Linked DNA regions of Homo sapiens: regions 1 and 2 are each linked to region 3. The links are contacts of gene promoters, found by promoter capture Hi-C in blood cells and fetal thymus (Javierre and others, 2016). All regions are on one chromosome and are shown on one strand. Each heading gives the region's core, a stretch centred on a gene start or on the middle of the fragment in contact. The rest is flanking DNA. Distances are from core to core; before and after follow the strand shown. Region 1 has its middle 62 kb from the start of SLC25A36. Region 2 has its middle 93 kb from the start of SLC25A36. Region 3 holds the start of NMNAT3 (nicotinamide nucleotide adenylyltransferase 3).

Evidence for each region. The method cuts DNA at HindIII sites, captures the fragments that hold promoters and counts their contacts. A CHiCAGO score of 5 or more calls a contact.
Region 1: a fragment that was not itself captured here is called in contact with the fragment with the promoter of NMNAT3 in region 3 in 1 of 17 cell types (endothelial precursors); the score reaches 5.8 in endothelial precursors.
Region 2: a contact is called between a fragment that was not itself captured here and the fragment with the promoter of NMNAT3 in region 3, in 2 of 17 cell types (monocytes and naive B cells). The highest score is 7.1, in monocytes.

The regions. Positions count from the first base shown.
Region 1 is chr3:140,878,830-140,881,753 of GRCh38, reverse strand. No RefSeq gene overlaps it. Among named protein-coding and RNA genes, the nearest start is that of SLC25A36, 62 kb to the left of the region's middle. The HindIII fragment of the contact is 1,058 bases long and covers 900-1,957 here.
Region 2 is chr3:140,846,955-140,850,054 of GRCh38, reverse strand. No RefSeq gene overlaps it. Among named protein-coding and RNA genes, the nearest start is that of SLC25A36, 93 kb to the left of the region's middle. The HindIII fragment of the contact is 8,464 bases long and covers 1-3,100 here.
Region 3 is chr3:139,676,490-139,679,334 of GRCh38, reverse strand. It overlaps NMNAT3 (nicotinamide nucleotide adenylyltransferase 3), which reads left to right and starts at 1,363. Exons shown (of 7, transcript NM_001401600.1): 1 at 1,363-1,630. RefSeq lists a silencer at 1,260-1,309. The HindIII fragment of the contact is 2,876 bases long and covers 1-2,790 here.

The DNA of each region.
Region 1 (2,924 bases), core at 179-2,678, 1.2 Mb before region 3:
TTCAGCTTTCTGCATATGGCTAGCCAGTTTTCCCAACACCATTTATTAAATAGTGACTCCTTTCCCCATTGCTTGTTTTTGTTAGGTTTGTCAAAGATCAGATGGTTGTAGATGTGTGGCATTATTTCTGAGGCCTCTGTTCTGTTCCATTGATCTATATATCTGTTTTGGTACCAGTACCATGCTGTTTTGGCTACTGAGCCTTGTATCAGGTAGTGTGAGGCCTCAGGCTTTGTTATTTTTGCTTAGGATTGTCATGGCTATGTGGGTTCTTTTTTGGTTCAATATGAAATTTAAAGTAGTGTTTTATTCTGTGAAGAAAATCAATGGTAGCTTGATGGGGATAGCATTGAATCTGTAAATTACTTTGGGTAGTATGGCCATTTTCACGATATCAATTTTTCCTATCCATGAGCATGGAATTTTTTTTCCAATTTTTTGTATCCTCTCTTATTTCCTTGAGCAGTGGTTTGTAGTTCTCCTTGAAGAGGTCCTTCACATCCCTTGTAAGTTGTATTCCTAGGCATTTTTTTCCTCTTTGTAGCAATTGTGAATGGGAGTTCACTTATAATTTTTTTTTTTAGACGGATGCTCGCTCTGTGGCCAGGCTGGGAGTGCAATGGCATGATCTCGGCTCACTGCAACCTCTGCCTCACAGGTTCAAGGGATTCTCCTGCCTCAGCCTCCTGAGTAGCTGGGATTACAGGTGTCTGCCACCAAGCCTGGCTAATTTTTGTATTTTTAGTAGAGAAGGGGTTTCGCCATGTTAGCCAGGCTGGTTTCCAACTCCTGACCTCAAGTAATCTTCCTGCCTTGGCCTCCCAAAGTGCTGGGATTACAGGCATAAGCCACTGCACCTGGCTCTACAATATATTTTCTTATCCTTTATTCTTAAAGCTTATTTACATTTTTATATTGAAGTAATTTCAAACTTACAGAAAAATTATAAGAATCATACTAAATAATTCATGTATATCTTTTAACCAGATTCACCCATTGTTAATATTTTGCTATATTTGCTTTATCATTCATCTTTATATCATATATATGAAAATATATGTAATATAAATGTATATATATTTCACGTGAAATATATATATTTGACACACGCACATGTATATTTATTTCTTTTCCCCCTGAATCATTTGAGAATAAGTTAGAGACATTATGCTCCTTCAAACCTTAGTAATTCAGTATTTATTTCCTAACAACAAGATAACTCTTTTATATGACCACAGTATAATTAATGAATTAAAGAAACTCGATGTTTAAGCATTAAACAATTTGACATATAGTCCACATTCCACTTTTGCTAGTTGTTCAATAATGCTTTTCATAGCATTGTTTCTTCTGGTCCAAGAAGAATGTTGCTTTTAGTTATCATCACTCTTAGCCCTTAGATTTCCTTCAATCTGGAATAGTTCCTCAGGGTTTCCTTGGTCTTTCACAACGTTTATATCTTAGAGACTACAGATAGTTATTTTGTAGAAGTTGCTCATCTTGAATTTGTCTCGTGTTTCCCCTGGTCAGATTTGGCCTATGCATTTTTTTTTTTTTTTTTTTTTGGTAAAAGTACTACATAAGTGATATTGTTTGCTTCTCAGTGCATAATGGTAGGAGTCAACTGATGATGATTTGGGATTGTAACTTTGATCACTTGGTTAAGATGGTGTCCAGTAGTTTTCTACATAGTAAAGTTACTATTTTACTTTCTGTAATAAATAAGTAATTTGGGGGAGGTACTTTGAAATGGTGGACATATCCTTCTCCTCATCAAACTTTTACAAATGCATATTCATTATTGATTTTTGTCTGCATGAACCATCATTATGATGGTTTCAAAATAATGATTTTCTTATACCTTCATTTCTTCTATGTTTATAAGTTGACATTCTCATTTCTAGTAAGGATGAATTGTTGTGTCCTCCAGGGTGGAAGAGACCTTGGGTAATAAGCTTGCCACTGAGTGGCTGCTTTATGTCCTCAAGGGATTGTACCATATCAAGCACTCAGCATTGGTGTCTGTTGCTAATGGTCAGGCATTCAGTAGTGGTGGTAGCTAGATCAGCCTTGGAGAGAGAGAGCCCATCATTTCAGGCCATCACGACTAATCCATTCATTTATGGGCCCTTTGTAAGGATTGAGATGGCTGAGGACAGGGGCTGACAGGCATTCATTAGACCAGTCATCCTGTCCATATGCTTATTCAGTGCTTCTTCTGCCACACGTGCTCTCTGGTGGGCTCTAGTGTGAGACACAAAGATCAACACATTATGTGCCCATTCTTATAGCTCCAGCCACATGCCTCTTCCTCAGACATGCTTGGTTTCAATCCTCTAGTGTTGTTCCCTTGAGGCCCTTGACCAAGCAACCAAGCCATTCTCCACCACCTAGAAGTCTGTGTATATTCTTACTTTTGGCCGCTTCTCTCCAGACACAAAGCAGATGACCACTGGACTTGAATTGGCACCCAGAGTTATTTTGGGTGTGTCTTTAGTGCAGCAACAGTCCATATTTTTAGCTCACGCCAGCATATCATGCTAGCCTAATCCTTATAAAGCCCTTTTCCTGCTCCTTTTCTATTCTGTCAACTGTCTGTGGAGAAATCCCCAAGGGGCCATAGGTATTATGTCTGGAATTGGTTCTCTCCGAGGGGTTCTTGGTCTCGCTGACTTCAAGAATGAAGCCATGGACCCTCGCAGTGAGTGTTGCAGTTCTTAAAGATGGTGTGTCCGGAGTTTGTGTTTTCAGATGTTCAGATGTGTCTGGAGGAGTTTCTTCCTTCTGGTGGGCTCGTGGTCTCGCTGACTTCAGGAGTGAAGCCACAGACCTTCACAGTGAGCATTACAGCTCTTAAAGGTGGTGCGTCCAGAGTTGTTTGTTCCTCCCGGTGGGTTTGTGGTCTCACTGGCTTCAGGAGTGAA
Region 2 (3,100 bases), core at 534-3,033, 1.2 Mb before region 3:
TGCAAGCAGCCATTTATATACACATACTTTATGAGATTTGGATCATATTCCATAGAGTGATTTGACTTTTTTTTTTTAAATGACTTTCCAAAGGTCACATAGATTGCTCCTGTGGAAGTCAGGACAGAAGCTGGGATTAACTTGTTTAGGACTAAGAACAACCCTTTTGCTTTGATAGATAGAAGACTGTGATATACCTTCTTAGCCTTCCCTTTTCAGAGAATGAGAAGAGAGGGGATTCCAGAGAAAGCCAAGGAAGGCTATTCAAGGACTGTGGTGAGCAATGTGTAGCCCTCTCTTCAGCCTCCTTTGTTTTTTTTCACTTGGAATTCTCTTTGCTGTGCCTTGTCCTTAGTGGATCACAGTGTCCTCTGCACAAGATTGTCTTGTTTTCTAGGGTGAGGGCTCAAGGTCTCTTGACTGGCCTCAGGGGGATGGTCAGTAGTCAGAGTGGAGCCACTTGTGTTCCTCCATGCCAGTTGGAGTCCTGGGGCTCAGAAGGGTTGGAGGAGAAGGTAGAGGAAGGAAGCGATTGTAGGAGAAGAATAAAGGAGGAAGGAGAAAAGAAATAACAATATGGAAAAGGCAAAGCTCTATAGACCCCTGGTAGATGGGTTTCTCCCATCCTCATCCCCCAGCCCTGCTTTCTTGGGTCTGCACTTGGGCCTGCACTTCTGTCCCACCATCATGTTAATGACACACAAGCATACCCAATTTCAAATTCTACCTCTTCTTACTTGTTCTGACTTTAGCAAGTTCTTTAAATTCCTTGATACTCCATTCCCTTTTGTGCATTGTGAGATGACAGACAAGGCTTCCTGGACAGTGTCCACCCCACCAGCTAAGTCAGCAGTGTAAGCCATATCCTACCTGGGCATGAGGTTGATGGGAAGAACCCTGACATCTGACTCTTGCTGGGGCTGGGTAGGATGCCTGGTAGAAAGCATTATAGGGTGTCCTTGCTTCTGTCAGAGCTGGCAGGGGTTGTCTGTGTTAGCTGAGTTCTTCACTAAGAGTAAACTGATTGTATCTTCTAACATGATTGGCATAATTCATATGGTGGAGGGAGATAATTCTCTACTGCTTTCATTTACATACAAAGATTGGTGGAGGAGAAAAGGAGGATCACATTTCAAATTCACCAGCAGTTGCTAGAAGCTGACAGCCCAAGAGATGGAGCTGAAGAACACGGATGTGTCTGGGCTCTGGGAACTCCAAAATGAGTGTCTTGGGTACTGTCATGACTATCTCTCTTTTCATATCTTGTTTTTTCTCCTCTTGGCTCCTTTTTGTAAACATGCTTCATTCTCTCCCTGAAAACTGGCTTTCTTTTTCTGCTGAAACATGGCATTCAGCACCTCTAGAGATTGATACATTTCAGCTGATGCTTAAGCAGCAGCTTACATTGGCTTAAGCTGATGCTGAAATTTATCAATCACTAGAGGTGCTGGATGCCGTCAGAGAGGGGCTGACCCAATTGCTTCTCTGGTCCCGATTCCAAAATGCCCAGGGAGGGGCCTCATTGGCTGAACATGGAATAGATGGCCACAACTTGACCAGTCACTGGGGTAATGTAAGAACCGTGTAAACCCCCAGGATTATTACAGATGGATAAGGGGCAGGATTTAAAATAAGTGCTTCTACATAGGCAATTCCGTAGGTGTTCACAAGGGGAATCACATGTGAGGAGTGTCTTCAGGGGAAGGCTGGAGTGTCTGCAGAAAAATTAACAGTGAGAAACTCCTAGAGTCACCTGAACAAAGGATATGATGGGCAAGGTTGTCTGCTAGTCAATCTTACGCTGTTTACTTTGCTAGGATGTAAAGCTATTCTGTCTCCCAAAACATAACGCAAAGCCTACCATATGCTTTTTAATGCTTTGCGAGAGTGATCTCTGCGTGAAATCAAAGGCTCTGCATCTCAGGTCTGCACTGGTGCCCAGCAGAAGGGGGAGATCAGCTGTGGGCACAGCATGTGTTGAGGTAAGTGTGTTTGGAACTAGAATTTACCTCAAGACATGAAATCCCTGGGAATTTTCCAAAACCTTGAAAATAGCATTGGGTTTTCCACAAAATAACAGGTGCTGCTTAAGCCTACTTTAGTTATTATCAGTGAATTGGAGACCTCAGTTGAAATTTGTGTTCGTGTACCAAATGGATGTAAGCCTTATGTCACAAATAAGAGTTAAATGATATCTATATAGAGAGTTCAGCGTCAAGTAAGCATGCAGTAAATGATAGTTCCCGCCTCCCTCACCTACTCATTGCTAGTATTCAGGGACAATGGTTTCAAATGCTTCCTAAGATTTACTTTTGTGTGAAAGAAAATATTTTAGAAAAAGAAACAGACCTAGCTTTTCATCCATTTTGTCTCCTACTAGCTGAGTGATTTAACCTGTCAGACGTTGGTCTCTGCATCTACATGCTGAAGGTATTGATACCCATCTCAGGTGTGGGTACAATGGTGGGGCGAGAGAAGGCATGTAAAGCATTCTACTGCCTGAGGCACACTTAGGTACCCACAAAACAGTGATTACATCTCTCTCATATGTTTTTCTCATTTCTTTAATTTCACTACAAACTTCTTGAGGGCAGAGCCATGTTTATTAATAACATTTGATCTTTCTAAGGTACTATGGTATTTGCAAAGTCTTTTTTACACCCCCTGTTTATTGCAAAGTTTTCTTCAGAGCCTGTATTTCCCATTTGATTCTCATAATGGCCTTGTGAAGCAGGTAGAACAGATCCTAATTTTTTCCACTTTAAGAAGAGGCTGACTGAGTTGTGTTTAGCATAGAGCCTGGCATTTGTTGGGTGCTGAATGTTTGTTGAGTGGTTTTGAGTGAGCTCCACATGTGTAGGTACTCTATGCCTGCTGATTGAATCTATGCATTTGTTAATTCATTAAGCAAATATTTATTGACCACCTATTACGTGCCCATCTGCAAAGAACAAAAATCCTGCCCTTGTGGCACTCACCTTCTAGGGAAATGAATGAATAAATTAATGATCAAATGAATTGAGAAGAAAATGAGGAGGAGCTGCTTGAATATCAGTCCTGGATATTTTCTTTATGACTTTTGAAAAAGGAGTACTTGTAG
Region 3 (2,845 bases), core at 114-2,613:
CAAAACTCAGTGCGGTAGGGGTTGTTACCTCCCATTATACGAAAGGAAAGTGAGGCTTGGGAAGTAAAGAGACTTGTCCAAGATCACCTTCTGGAGCCACATTTTACACCACAGGTAAGAGAAAAGGGATCCGAGAGGGCACGGACACTGTGTCTTCAGACTGAGTGGGGAAGTACCATTTACCTGGGTACTTATTGGGTGCAAGTTGCATGCCCCCGGTGCTAATACACAAGGGACAAATTTATGGGCCTCCTAAAACTGTGGACAGTGCACCCGTCCAGCCAACTTCATGGGTGCACCGTGAGGCTCTGGTGATGTGGACAGGCTTATAAAACACTCTCCATACTAAGATGAGGTTGTGTTCCTGTGTCTAGGAAACGCTGGAAATTAAGTGTACAGCAATCAAAAAACCTTGACATCATCCTTGATGTCTCTCTTTTTCGCACACTCCAATTCACTCCATTAGGAAACTGTATTGGCAGAATCTAGTGAATCTTGTCCTTCAAGGCCTCTCTCTGCAAGGCTCCCATGAGCCCTGGGGGCTTATGGAGAGTTCTGGGTGGGCAGAGGAAGCCAGACTGCGTTAGGGAAGCAAATTTGGGACCTAAATTTCCTAAGAAGGTTTTAGGGGATAGGGACCCCAATCTCTAAGACCCCAGGATTCTGTTAAGATTTATTTTCTCATTCCAAATAAATGTTCACTGGCAAGCCCTAATTCTGTCTTCTCTTTCTTAAGCAGCCCTCCCTTCCTTCTCCCCACACAACTGTGTATGCTTCAGGCCCCAGAAATCCTTCCCTGCTTTGAGGTCTGGCGTTTACCAGGGCAGGGCTTGAGAATAGAGGTGTAAATTTGTCAGAAGGAAACAGGGGCCGCGCAGTAAGAGAGTAGATCCTCATATAACATGGCAGAAAGTCAATGGATAAATCAAGAAATCGCTATGTAAGTTTCTTTTTTTATTTTTTTATTTTATTTATTTATTTTTTTTTTGCGACAAGCGGGTGACCACTAGAAGAAATTAACGGAGGAATTGTTAAAAAGAGCTGTGATGGGAGGGAGAAGTGGCCTGTTGCTTTCATTATAAGCAAATCTAGATAATTTTATTTTCTAATAAGTAAGTGGGCGTTACTTTCATGTATTTTTTTAAAAGAAAATTAAATAAAAATACAAAACAAACAGAATACAAAACAGGAGAATAAAAAAGCAAACACGCACGCAACACAAAAGAGCCTTGGCGGTTGGGAGCCAGCGGGCGGGGGCGGGGGCAGGGGAGAGGGCGGGGCTTAGGACCCTGGGCGGGGCCAGGGCCGGGTCTCCTTAGGGCCCGCCCCAGCGAAGGGGCGGGGCGCAGATCTGTTTCCCTCAGACTCCATCTGCCCGGGGCCGCTAAGGGAGCGCAAGGTCAAGTTCGCCTTGGCCCCGCCTCCAGCTCAGGTACTAGGGGATCTAGACCTGAGGCTGCCCGGGCCGGAGGCAGCCTTGAGTCCCGAGACCAAACGTCGTTTCCCTCTCGGACCTCGGGCGCCGGGCCGCGCGCTGACCGACAGCCCCTGCTAGGCCCAGCAGGTCCCCTAGTCCCCCGCAGTCCCCCGAGACTCGCCGAGCGCCGTTGCTGAGCCCTGCAAATAGCAGGTAAGCGCAGCGTGGGCCCCTCGTCAGCCCACTAGGACCTGGATCGCGGCTGAATGCCCGGGCCCACGTGACTCCTGGCCCCTAACTGAGTCCTGGGAGTCCCCGCTGGGGCGACAGGTGGCGGCGGAGTGCGGAGCCATCCGGGGTGGCGCGAACCGGGGGGACAGCTCCGCGCTGCCTCTGCGCGCCGGCGGTTCTCGCTGCAGCGTGTCAACCTAACCCCCAGCTCCCCTTTGGCTATGACCAGAGTCCCGGAGACGTGGGTTCGGATCCCACCTTTAGCACTCGTGCACTCAAAGGTTAAAAATATAAGCACAGTGTCTAACAAATACTTAACGTGTTCCACTCAGTGTCCGCTGCTGGGCTAAGTGCTGGGGTTACAGTAGCAGGCCAAAAAATGTGGTGCCCTCCCCCGTGCAGCTCACAGTCCAGTGGGGGGAGACCGACAGCAAATGGATATCTATGCAAACAAGTGTGAACGTTAAAACTGTGGTCAGAGCTATGAAGATTGAAATTCTAGGGTGCTGGAGAGATTTTATCAGGGCCCCCAGCTACAAAGGCTGCTGGAACTAAAACTTTAGAGAATTCCCGGGCGGGGAACAACAGAGCAAACTCATTTTGTTGGGAGAGAATGTGGCTTGAGGAAAGGAGGGTTGGTGGGGCTGGCCTGCAGAGAGCTGGGGGGAAAGCAAGTTCCTTAACCTTAACGTTCTCCTCTGTAAAATGGGATTGTTCTACCCATTGAGAATGGAAATGGTGAATGTAAATGACTTAGCACTGCGTGATGGGTGCTGGATGTTACTCTGCACTAAACATCCAAGGCTTGATGTTGTTCTGGACTAAACACAGTGTGCCTGCCTCTCAGCAAAGTCACTTCCCCTCTCCTTGAGTCCTGTTTCTTCCTCTATCAAATAAGTGGTTCTGAGTAGAATCTCTCAAACAGCCTGTTCTCTAAAATGATGACTGGTTTAGTTGTTCATTCTTGAAACATTTAACTGGCGCCCACTTTACCCTGGCTCTGAGGATTCAGAGAGAAATCAGACAGGGGCCCTGCCCTCCTGGAGCCCATGTCCGGTGGGCCAGGTGAAATAAAGTGACAGTTCCACCCTGGCACAACCCAGAGAAAGGGTTCTTACCCACTGGCCTTGCAGGGGAAAGCTTCTCTGTTTTTCTCAGAAAGCCACCCAGGAGCCCCTGAAGGTATGGTTCACACAG